Regions from separate parts of the Homo sapiens genome. Here regions 1 and 2 are each linked to region 3. Evidence: promoter capture Hi-C in human tissues and cell types (Jung and others, 2019). All regions are on one chromosome and are shown on one strand. The core of a region is centred on a gene start or on the middle of the fragment in contact, and the rest is flanking DNA. Distances in the headings are between cores, read along the strand shown.

What was found. The method cuts DNA at HindIII sites, captures the fragments that hold promoters and counts their contacts. A contact is called where the count stands out against the background at its distance.
Region 1: a fragment that was not itself captured here is called in contact with the fragment with the promoter of BMI1 in region 3 in 1 of the 25 tissues and cell types used here (hippocampus).
Region 2: a contact is called between a fragment that was not itself captured here and the fragment with the promoter of BMI1 in region 3, in 1 of the 25 tissues and cell types used here (lymphoblastoid cells).

Annotation. Positions count from the first base shown.
Region 1 is chr10:22,497,581-22,501,316 of GRCh38, forward strand. No RefSeq gene overlaps it. Among named protein-coding and RNA genes, the nearest start is that of LINC03027, 62 kb to the left of the region's middle. The HindIII fragment of the contact is 8,823 bases long and covers 1-3,736 here.
Region 2 is chr10:22,524,055-22,528,240 of GRCh38, forward strand. No RefSeq gene overlaps it. Among named protein-coding and RNA genes, the nearest start is that of LINC03027, 88 kb to the left of the region's middle. The HindIII fragment of the contact is 4,160 bases long and covers 1-3,636 here.
Region 3 is chr10:22,318,899-22,322,934 of GRCh38, forward strand. It overlaps BMI1 (BMI1 proto-oncogene, polycomb ring finger), which reads left to right and starts at 2,201. Exons shown (of 10, transcript NM_005180.9): 1 at 2,201-2,798. It overlaps COMMD3-BMI1 (COMMD3-BMI1 readthrough), which reads left to right. Exons shown (of 14, transcript NM_001204062.2): 5 at 61-120. COMMD3 (COMM domain containing 3) reads left to right here. Exons shown (of 8, transcript NM_012071.4): 7 at 61-120; 8 at 1,041-1,408. The coding sequence ends at 1,100. RefSeq lists silencers at 1,686-1,945, 2,006-2,175, 2,366-2,565. The HindIII fragment of the contact is 3,913 bases long and covers 1,279-4,036 here.

The DNA of each region.
Region 1 (3,736 bases), core at 1,035-3,534, 180 kb after region 3:
CTGAAAGGTGATGTTAATCACTAGTTGAGGTGAGAGCATGGTTACAGCAGAGGGTCCCTGTTGGAGGACTGCGGCACATTTATTAGAGGGGCCTGTGACCAACTGGGGGAGGCGCTAGAATGTTTGAGGGAGGACACTGAATTCTGCCTTACAGGTCAGGGGCTGGGAGGCAGGTGGGGGCAGAGCCATTCACCTATTTATTTTTAATGATGAGCTCAATATTTTAGAAAACGATTTCCATAACTAAATGGGAGAAAGGGCAGGGAGCCTGAGCCAGCTCAGAAGCCGTCTCAGACATCTGGGCTAGCTAGTGTCAGCTATCTGTGCCCCTAGACCCCCCAGAAATGGGTCACACCTTTAGCAGCTGTCCTGTTCATCACTCTACAAGAATGTTTCCTCAGGATGCTCACAGCTGCCATGAGGCTTCTCAGGTTGGATGGCTTTCTCTCTACCCTGGCCCCACCACCGATGGAGCAAAGCTTTTGTGTGGCAAGTCTAGTTTTATTTGACCATACTCGATATCCATCAGATAAGAAAAATGAACATTGGCATAGTGATTTAGAATTTACTAGATATCTGGCAGTTCCTAGGTACCTGGGAACCATGACTGTCACTGGGCATATTGTAAAATTATGAATATGACCATCCAAGACTACTCTATGTATGCAGGTCAGAGGGCCCTTGAGGGGATAATTTGTGCAAAGTTCTACTTAGTGGTTAACAGCTTCTTTTGGTAGAAGTGGTACAGGCCCCCTGGGACTTGGCATGGGGGTTGAGAGGGGTGAAGGTGGGTCATTTCAATGGAAAAGACAAGTGGTGCCTTCTACACCATTGCCTTTTTTTCTTTTTCTTTGAGACAGGGTCTGCTCTGTTGCCCAGGCTGGAGTGCAGTAGAATGATCACAGCTGGAGTGTAGTGGCATGATCATGGCTCCCTCTAGTTTAGAATGCCTCAGCTCAAGCTGTCCTCCTGCCTCAGCCTCCCAGCTGGACTACAGGCATGTGCTACCACGCCTGGCTAATTTTTTTATTTTCCTAGAAACAGGATCTTGCTATGTTGCCCACGTTATTCTCAAACCCCTGTCCTCAAGCAATCCTCCTACCTTGGCCTCCCAAAGTGCTGGGATTACAGGTGTGAGCCACTGTGGCTGGCCAACTTTTGCATTTTTATCTGTCTTCAAAAGACACATACTTCCTTTCAGATCTGGTCATATTCCCAGGGAATAGTCACCGCACATCTCACAGTAGAAACACCCTACCTGAGGGTCCTGTGTGCAGAACATTCTGCAAAGACCCCCACAGAGGCCAGGTGGGCTTTGCAGCAGGCTTAGACAGTGGACACAGCCTGCAGCTGTGGCTGGGGCAGCACTGAGGTTTTAAAATTTTGATGGTCATTCCCAGCATTGCCCTTTGCGTTTAAACTATTAGAGCCAATATAAAACACTATAAGTTCGAATAAACTTGAAAGGATTCATAGGCTATACATGGCTCCAGAGTCCCTACACAGAATCTTGTGGCCAGAGGGGCCTCTGTCTGGTCCTTGTGGTGGGGACTGGTTAATGCCCTGGTGAGGTTCTCAAGGGCGGGGGTGCAGCCTCAGACCAGGACTTGAGTTGACTAGAAAGTCTTTCTCTCTCTCCACTTCACTGCCCCAGCCTATTTTTCTCTCCTGTCTTGACTTGGAATTGAAAACAGCTGGCCAACCTCCTTCCTCCTTGAAGGTGGTTTTTGAATTCTGTCCCTTCTCATTTTCACCCATAGGTTTTGCCCCTTGTCACTTACTGGGCACCTGAGGTATCACATCAGCATGAAAACTCATTACCTGCCCACCTGGTTCCGCTGCCTCAGCTCCTTCTTGGAAGCAGGTGGCCTCTACAGGATGAATATGTTTAAAAGGAAAAAGAAAAAAGGAAAGAAAAAAAAAGAAAACACTTCTGGTGTGTTGTTAGACTGGCTTCTTATTAGAGACACAATCCTCATTTCAGCCATGTATATTTAAGCCACACAAAGGAGCTCATGAGTGGAAATATCTTTTTGTCAGGAATTGTCAGAGGCAGTGATTGAAAAACTATAAGCTGCCAGGGGAATTGATCAGCCAGCTCAGGGAGACATCAGTATTGCTTATTTACAGGCAGACGGTGTTTCCATTTTGCTTAGTTACACATGTGCAGAGGTGTTTCCTCTTTCCACATGGAAGAAGTCCTGTGTAGGGGAGTAGGTTCCATGGAGTGAGCCGGGGGTGCCAAAGGCTTTTGGGCAGAGACCCTGCCCCTAGGGGCACACTGGCCTGGCTGTGGGAGCTGACCTGGGGAAGCATGTGTGTGGAACAGTGACAACCAGCAAGCTCAGGAAGAAACCACCTGGCAGTTAGTGGTGCCAGAGTGAACAGTGACAATGTTCAGGTCTGGCAGAGATGTCTGGGAATAACTCTGGGGCCAGGAAAGAATACTTCTGAATGTGATCATCAAATTAAACATCAATTTCTGCCAGGTGCAGTGGCTCACACCTGTAATCCCAGCTCTTTGGGAGGCCCAGCTGGGAGGATCACTTGAGGCCAGGAGTTCAAGACTGGCCTGGGCAACATAGCAAGATCCCATCTCTACAAAAAATAAAAAAAATGAGCCAGGTATCGTGGTGTGCATCTATAGTCCCAGTTACTCTGGAGGCTGAGGCAGGAGGATCATTTGAGCCCAGGAGTTTGAGGCTGCAGTGAGCTTTGATCACTCCACGGTACTCCAGTCTGGGTGATAGAGCAAGATCCTATCTCTAATTAAAAAGATACATAAATTAAAAAATTAATTTCATTGGGAGGCTGAGGCAGGAGGATTGCTTGAACCCAAGAGTTTGAGGCTGCAGTGAGCTATGATTACACCACTGTCACCTGGATGACAGAGTGAGACTCCATCTCTTTAAAAAAATATTAACTTCAGTGACTTTGGATTAATTAGTTTCATTTCACTTATATCCCTCTCACATTTTGGAGAGAGAAATATAGAAAAAGAAGAAAGAGGAGAGAGGGACAAAAGTTCTCAGACATTGGTGAAGTAACTGAAAGACTACAGGGTGAAATTGAATACTGAGAAATGCGTTTGTCCCAGGTCATTTAAGTTGTTAAAATCTACTGTCATTGGATAGTAAAGAAAGAGCTGTTTAAACTTTGGCAGCTTGATAGATTTTTTAAAAAGCCTCTTTTGCAAGGTTGACTTTAACATAAATCTTGAGCAAGCATAACATGTAAAACACCACTCAGGGCCATTACAGTTATGTTAAAGTTTTTATTTTCTCTCGCCAGCGGGATTTCTCTCTCCACTGGTATTATATGTGCCTGCCAAAACCATATAAAAAGGCTTCATGGAGAAAAGTTTCCAGTGCCAGAAGCCAATCCAGTTTTTTCCCAGATTTGAAGTTTAACACCGGGCCTGGAGACTGTTAGGAAATAGATGTTACAAAAGATGCGGAGTGAGGGAAGCCGGGAGGGAAGATGAATGAATTCAGTGTCCAGTGTTCCCAGGCTTCAGGGCAAAGGATGCAGATGCTTCAATTCATTACTGCGAGAGCTGAAGGGAGACAGAAGTTTGTGGTGTTTTTCAGTGACATTTATCTGCTCATCTGTCAGGAGTTTCTTTCTGTCAACAGGGATAAGCTGCTAAAAAACAAAACCACATGCAACCCTGCAGCTCACAATAATCAGTTATGTACCTTGGCACTTTTCACACATATTGATGCCAACACAAGTC
Region 2 (4,186 bases), core at 307-2,806, 200 kb after region 3:
TAGGTCCACTTGGTCCAGAGCTGAGTTCAAGTCCTGAATATCCTTGTTAATTTTCTGTCTTGTTGATCTAATATTGACATTGGGGTGTAAATATCTCCCACTGTTATTGTGTGGGAGTCTAAGTCTCTTTGTAGGTCTCTATGAACTTGCTTTATGAATCTGGGTGCTCCTGTATTGGGTGCATATATATTTATGATAGTTAGCTTTTGTTGCATTGATCCCTTTACTATTATGTAATGCCTTTCTTTGTCTTTTTTGATCTTTGTTGGTTTATTTTATAAGAAATAAGGATTGCAATCCCTGTTTTGTTGTGTTTTGTTTTGTTTTTCTTTCCATTTGCTTGGTAAATATTCCTCCATCCCTTTATTTTGAGCCTATGTGTATGTTTGCATGTGAGATGGGTCTCCTGAATACAGCACACTGATGGGTCTTGACTCTTTATTCAATTTGCCAGTCTGTGTCTTTTAATTGGGGCATTTAGCTCATTTACATTTAAAGTTAATATTGTTATGTTTGAATTTGATCCTGTCATCATGATGCTAGCTGGTTTTTTGTACATTAGTTGATGCAGTTTCTTCATAGCTTGGATGGTCTTTACAATTTGGCATGTTTTTGCAGTTGCTGGTACTGGTTTTTCCTTTCCATACCCAGTGCTTCCTTCAGGAGCTCTTGTAAGGCAGGCATGGTGGTGACAAAATCCCTCAGCATTTGCTTATCTTGTCTGGAAAGGATTTTATTTTTCCTTTGCTTATGAAGCTCAGTTTGGCTGGATATGAAATTCTGGGTTGAAAATTCTTTTCTTTAAGAATGTTGAATATTGGCCCCCACCCTCTTCTGGCTTGCCAGCTTTCTGCAGAGAGATCTGCTGTTAGTGTGATGGGCTTCCCTTTGTAGGTAACCCGAACTTTCTGGCTGCCCTTAACATTTATCCTTTGTTTCAACCTTGGAAAATCTGATAAACATGTGTCTTGGGCTTGCTTTTCTCTGTGATTATCTTAGTGGTGTTCTCTGTATTTCCTGAATTTGAATGTTGGCCTGTCTTGCTATGTTGGGGAAGTTCTCCTGGGTAATATCCTCAAATTTGTTTTCCAACTTGGTTCCATTCTCCCCATCACTTTGTGATACACCAGTCAATTGTAGGTTTGGTCTTTTCACATAGTCCCATATTTCTTGGAGGCTTTGTTCATTCCTTTTCAATCTTTTTTCTCTAATCTTGTCTTCATGCCTTATTTCAGTAAATTGATCTTCAATCTCCAATATATTTTCTTCCACTTTATTCGGCTATTGATACTTGTGTATGCTTCATGAAGTTCTCGTGCTGTGTTTTTCAGCTCCATCAGGTCATTTGTGTTCTTCTCTAAACTGATTATTCTAGTTAGCAGTTCCAGTAACCTTTTATCAAGGTTCTTAGCTTCTTTGCATTAGGTTAGAACATGTTCCTTTAGCTCAGAGGAGTTTGTTATTACTCACTTTTTGAAGCCTACTTCTGTCAGTTTATCAACCTCATTCTCTGTCCAGATTTGTGCCCTTACTGGAGAGGAGTTGTGATCATTTGGAGGAGAAGAGGCATTCTTGTTTTTGGAATTTTCAGCATTTATGTGCTCATTTTTCCTCACCTTCGTGGATTTATCTACCTTTGATCTTTGAGGCTGATCACCTTTGGATGGGGTTTTTGTGTGGCTCTTTTGTTGATGTTGTTGCTTTCTGTTAGTGTTTCTTCTAAAAGTCAGGCCCCTCTTCTGCAAGTTGCTGCATTTTGCTGGAGGTTCACTCCAGACCCTCTTCACCTGGGTATAACCACTGGAGGCTGCAGAACAGCAAAGGTCACTGCCTGCTCCTTCCTCTGGAAGCTTAGTCCCAGAGGGGCACCAGCCTGATGCCAGCCAGAGCTCTCCTGTGTGAGGTATCTGTCAACCCCTTTTTGGAGGTCTCTCCTAGTCAGCAGGCATAGGGGTCAGGGACCCACTTGAGGAGGCAGTCTGTCCGTTAGCCGAACTCGAGTACTGTGCTGGGAGACCTGCTCTCTTCAGAGCCAGCAGGCAGGAACTTGTAAGACTGCTGATGCTGGGCTCACAGCTACCCCTTCCCTCATGCTCTGTCCCAGGGAGATGGGAGTTTCATCTGTAAGCCCCTGACTGGGGCTGCTGCCTTTCTTTCAGAGACATGCAAACTAGAAAAAACATACTAACTAGATAGTCCAGCAGCTAATTTAATCAAGGACATATGATGGAAGCAGAGCCAGAGAAAGATGCTATATTGCTGGCTTTGAAGATAAGGATGAAACCAAATATCCAAACCATGCAGACAATCTGTACCTGGAAAAGGCAAGAGAACAAATTCTCCACCAGGGCTTCCAGAAAGGATGCAGCCCTTCTCTAGGGTATGTTCCCAGGACTAAAATTCCCAAGTCATATGGTAACCTATATTTAACCATTCAAGGAACTCCCAGACTGTTTTCCAAAGTAGCTGTGCCATTTTACACACTTACAGGCAGTATATGAAGGTTCTAATTCTTCCACATCTTCACCAACACTTGCTTTTTCGTTATACTTATCCAAGCCATAGCCTCTGCCTATGTTTTCTTCTGAATTTTAGTTTTAGTTTTTTCATTTAAGTCTTTGAAGCACTATGAATTAATTTTTCATGTATGATGTGAGGTAGGGGTCCTATTTCATTCTTTTGCACGTGGATACGTAGTTGTCCTAGCATCATTTGTGGAAAAGACTATTCTTTCACCTACTGAATTGTCTTGGCACCCTCATGAAAAATCAATTGACCGTAAATGTAAGGGTTCATTTCTGAAATCTGTATTATATTTCTTTGATCTATATGTATATCTGTCCACACTTTTGATTGCTGTATTTCTGTAACTGTGAAATCTAAAAGTGTGCATCCTTCAACTTTGTACTTTTCAAGATTGTTTTGGCTATTCTGGGTCCCTTGCATTTCCATACAATTTTAGGATAAGTTTGTCAATTTCTGCAAAGCAGCCTGCAGGGATTTAGATAGAAACTGGATTAAATCTGGAGTATTGCTATCTTAATGACGTTATGCTTTCCATAAATATAGGATATCTTTCAACTTATTAGGTCTTCTTTAATTTCTTTTAATGATGTTTTATTGTTTTCAGTCTACAAGTTTTACACTTTTGGGCTAAGTTTATTTTCAGATTTAAAAACTTTATCCATGTTATTATAAATACAATTGTCTTCAATTTTCAGATTGTTCATTGCTAGCATAGAAATAAAATTGCTTTTTGTTTATTGATCTTGTACCCTGCAATCTTACTGAACTTGTTAGCCCTATTAGTTTCTTCTGGTGGATTCCTTAAGATTTTTTATATGTAAGATCATGTCATCTGCAACTAGAAAAAGTCTTACTTTCTCTACAGAAAAGGGTACTCATCAAGAACTTGACCATGCTGGCACTCAGTCTCAGACTTCTAGTCTCCAGAAATGTGAGAAATAAATGTTGTTTAAGCCACCAGTCTATGGTAATTTATTATAGCAGTCCAAACTAATTAAGACAAATGCTGAGTAGAGGTGGCAAGAGTGGTTATCCTTGTCTTGTTCCTGATCTCAGGAGGAAAATATTCAGTCTTTCAGGATTAAGTGCAATGCTGGCTGTGAGTTTTTCATAGATGTCCATGGAGGTTAAGGGAGTTGCCCTTTATTCGTAATTTGTTGAATATTTTATGAAAGGATTTTGTCCGGTGCTTTTCCTGCATCTATTAAGATCATCAGGCTGTTTATGAATAAAGGCTTTGAGATTTTTTAGTTTTCAATATAGTTACTTAGAGTTGAAAAAATTTTCCTCTAAGCATGATTTTGGCTGCATCTGAGAAGTTTTGGCATGTGTGTTTTTGTTTTCATTCACTTCAAAGTATCTTAGAATTTCCCTTGTGATTTCTTCTTTAACCCACTGGGTTTTCAGGAAATGTTATTTAATTTCTACATATTTCTATCTGTAAATTTCTTAAAATTCCCTCGGCCATTATTTCTTCACATATTTCTTCTATTCCTTTCTCTCTCCCCTCTTCCTCTGGAACTCTCATTATTTATACAGTGGCATGTTTGATATCCCATCAGTCTCTAAGGCTGCTCATTTTCCTTCATTTTTTTCTTTTTTTCCTAGACTGGATAATCTCAATGGACCTTTAAGTTTGCTTGCTTTCTTCTGCCAGTTC
Region 3 (4,036 bases), core at 951-3,450:
ATAATTTCATTGATTTAAATAAACAGCGTTTCTTGTTGCGTGTTTTTTTTCCTGCCCTAGAACACTGATTCCCCATCCTATCCAGAGATTAGTTTTAGTTGCAGCATGGAACAATTACAGGTACAGTATTAGGATCTATAAATATTCCTGTCTTTTTATAAATGTTTACTTGAGAGTTATACTCTTGGGAAGTTCAAAAGAAAATTAATCTAACCATTTGTCAGCAGATAATGAAGATTGGTTAAGGATTTAATGGGAAAGGGGCATCAAAAGTAGTATTTTAAGATAGGCTTCACTTGAAATTAAGATGTTATTAATAGAGAATTGGTCTGTATTTGCTGTTCTTGCTGATTGAAATAAACTTCTGTAGTGTTTAGTGTAAATTTCTTCTATTCATGATGAGTTTGGTCCAATAAGATAAACAAAATTAAGAGCATGGCTTTGAAAATGTCTTTGCTTTCAGAAATTGAATTAAACTGTCAAAATTGGATTTTGAAACTTTTTAAATGACTTTATAAAGGGGGAAGTATACATAACATTCTAAAACTGTTTATATTGCCCATTTAAGACTGGGAAAATTCAAAACTACATTTATTAGTGGATATGACAACGAATTTATTTCATAGTTTTTAAAAAATGAAGCTCATTACTGGAAATTTAAGTGAAATTGAATTTTTCAAAGGCATCTTCTGCAGAGTCGTTTTAATGTAACTATGAATCAAACTTTCAACTTTCAGAAAATGTGTATACAGCATAACCTTTGTTAGATAACTTGAGAAAATTCAGATGTATCTGGGCGGTTAAGGATCCGGTTAGAAATCATGTTTCAGTGTGAGGGCAAATAACCGATTTGAACATGAGGTATTTCCGAGGAAACGCTTTTTTTGCCCGATAGTAGTTTGTCAAAAGTTAAAATCTTGTTGAATTTTAAACTTGTTTGGAAGGTGTGTCCTGATTTTTTTTCTTGCATCTTTCTTGAGCTTGGATACTTCTTTCCATGTTTTATCCTAAAAACGTGGTATTGTATACACGTCTTTTAGGACTTGGTGGGGAAACTTAAAGATGCTTCGAAAAGCCTGGAAAGAGCAACTCAGTTGTAACTTGGGGAAGTTAACGATCCGCCCGAGTGCAGAGGAAAACCAGAAACGCCTTGCCTTCAGCTGAACCACCGTTTGTGCGAGCTGGATGTCCTTTTCAGTAGAAAAGAATTTTCCTTTTGAATTTATACCATTCATCAATTTTGACACTTTAAAAACGTGTGAAAGGGTTAAGAGGGAAAGATACTGCCCAAGTATTTGAATCGTTTAGTAGTAACTGTCCATTTATCCTATTTTGATCTTTTTCAAGTCTTCTGAAAGGAAGTAGACAGTATTACACCCTGAATAAATAAGGTGTTGTTTTCCACAAAGAGTGATGATATTTTGTTTGGATCTGAGTTCGTGTGTTATTACTTTGTGTGAAGCTAGATAGGAGTAGTGTGAACTTTTAACGATAGCCTTTTCTCAGGATTAAAGTTAAACACGGAGGAAACGATGCGATCTCCTGGGTTTGTCGCAGACCCCTGCTTCGGGGCTCCGGGGGCGGGCGCGGGCGGCTGCCCGGCCCGTTACCTGCGCCCGAGGGCTCGCCCACAGCCCGACCCTCGGCCGCCCGGTCCCGGCCCGGCGCGGAGCCCCTGCCCGGAGCCAGCCGTCGCCCGCGCGCGCCCCGCCTCGGCCGCCCGCGGGCGGGGAAGAGGCCGGCGCGGCCGCGGGCTGGCGGGCAGGGGCGGGCGCTGTTGTTTCCGCGAGCCCAACTTGGGCGCAGGTTCCGCGCCGCGGCGCCGGAGCCTGGGCCGCAGCCCGCGGGGCCGGCCGGGGGGCGGCGGCCGCGGGACGTATGCGCCCCGGGAGGAGGCGGGCGGCCGGGAGAAAGAAAGAACGGGGGGCGGGGTGGGCTGCGCGGCGTGCGGGGCCGGAGCGGCGGCCGCGCGGAGCAGGGCGGCGCGTGTGGCGCTGTGGAGAAATGTCTCCGCCGCCGCGGCGCGGAGCGAGGGAGGGGGCCGGGCGCGCGGCGCGGAGGGGAGGGGGCGGCCACGGGCCTGACTACACCGACACTAATTCCCAGGCCGCCCTTAAGGAATGAGGGGAGCACGTGACCCGCTGGGGGGGCGGCGGGGGGAGGGGGCGGGCGGACTCCGAGCCATTTTGGAGCCGGTGTCAGTTTCCACTCTGCCTTCAGCGGTGCATTTTTTTCCACCCTCCCCTCCCCCTCCTCCCCTCCCCCCGCTCGCACGCACACACACGGCGCCCCCCGCCCGCCCGCCTCCCCCACAGCAACTATGAAATAATCGTAGTATGAGAGGCAGAGATCGGGGCGAGACAATGGGGATGTGGGCGCGGGAGCCCCGTTCCGGCTTAGCAGCACCTCCCAGCCCCGCAGAATAAAACCGATCGCGCCCCCTCCGCGCGCGCCCTCCCCCGAGTGCGGAGCGGGAGGAGGCGGCGGCGGCCGAGGAGGAGGAGGAGGAGGCCCCGGAGGAGGAGGCGTTGGAGGTCGAGGCGGAGGCGGAGGAGGAGGAGGCCGAGGCGCCGGAGGAGGCCGAGGCGCCGGAGCAGGAGGAGGCCGGCCGGAGGCGGCATGAGACGAGCGTGGCGGCCGCGGCTGCTCGGGGCCGCGCTGGTTGCCCATTGACAGCGGCGTCTGCAGCTCGCTTCAAGATGGCCGCTTGGCTCGCATTCATTTTCTGCTGAACGACTTTTAACTTTCATTGTCTTTTCCGCCCGCTTCGATCGCCTCGCGCCGGCTGCTCTTTCCGGGTACGTAGGAGGCGAGGCGCCCCCGGGACGGGGCTGGGGGCCGGCGGGGGCCGCGCGGGGCTCGGGGCGGCCGCGGGTGGAAGGGGAGCCCCCCCCGCGCCCCGGCCGCGCCGCCGGGAGGGCGCTGACAGCGTGGGCGCCCGGCCCCGCGCCCCGCGCCGCCCGCCCCGCGCCTGCCGGCCCCGCGCGCCGCCCTCCCCGCGCCCGCGAGCGCGCGCCCGCCGCCGCCCGCCGACTCCCGCGGCGCCGGGACCGACCCGCAGCCCGCGCCGCGCCGCCGCCGCCAGCAGGGCTCGGCGCCGCTCCAGCCGCCGCCGCCCGCTCAGCCCCGGCGCGCCGCGCGCGGCCCCACGTTTTAGTTCCCCGCTCCCCCGGGCGCCCCTCCGCACCCTCGCGACGCACATGGCCCCCGAGAGGAGTACTGGTATTTCCAGCCTCGGCGGCTCTCCCGGCCGCAGCGCCCTTTGTTGAGAGGTAGATTTGGATGAAACGGGGACGGGTTCCTGAAATCGGGAGCTGCTTGGGTCAAGTGGCTTCCCTCCTCTCCCGAAGAAAGGGCTCTGGAGGGGCTCCAGCAGCCAGAGAACGCCCCCATTTTATAGGGACGGGTTGCGTGGGGGGCGGCCATCCCGCCAAGGTGGGTGTTAGGCTGGAGAGAGCCCCGACGAAAATGTTATTAACTTAAGTTGGGGGGACACTTGTCTGAGATTGGATGGCTGGTAAGATGGCGGTTCCCAGTTGTTTCCAAGGTCTCCTGCATTTGTGTTTAAAATGCTGAAGTTTTCAAGGTGGTGTGTGTTGGGAGTCTTGGATAAGTGCTCTGAACATCGCTTGGGAGGTGCTCCCTGGGAAGTGGGCATTTCAAATTTGGAGCTTTTTGTGGAGTGAAGATGGTGACTGGACGTTAGCTTTGCTGGAGGCTTGCTTTCTCACTACTTCTTTTTCTCCTTTTTCTTTTTTCCCCTTTTGGAGACTGCAACTTTTCTCTCGACTTCTACTAAAGGATGCACTCAGCATCATGACTCCAGTCCACTATCTTTTACAGGTTTTGCTAAATGTCAGCATAGGTCATTTGGCAAAGGGATGCTTTAGAAAAGAGCACTAAAAAGTTGATTGCATATGTTTACGCAGTCACTTGGGCTTGACAGTGATATGGCATGATCTTTTTCCCAGAGATTTACAGTTAATAATTGGAAGTAAACAAGTAGAGAGACTTTGATCATTACCACTTGCAATAA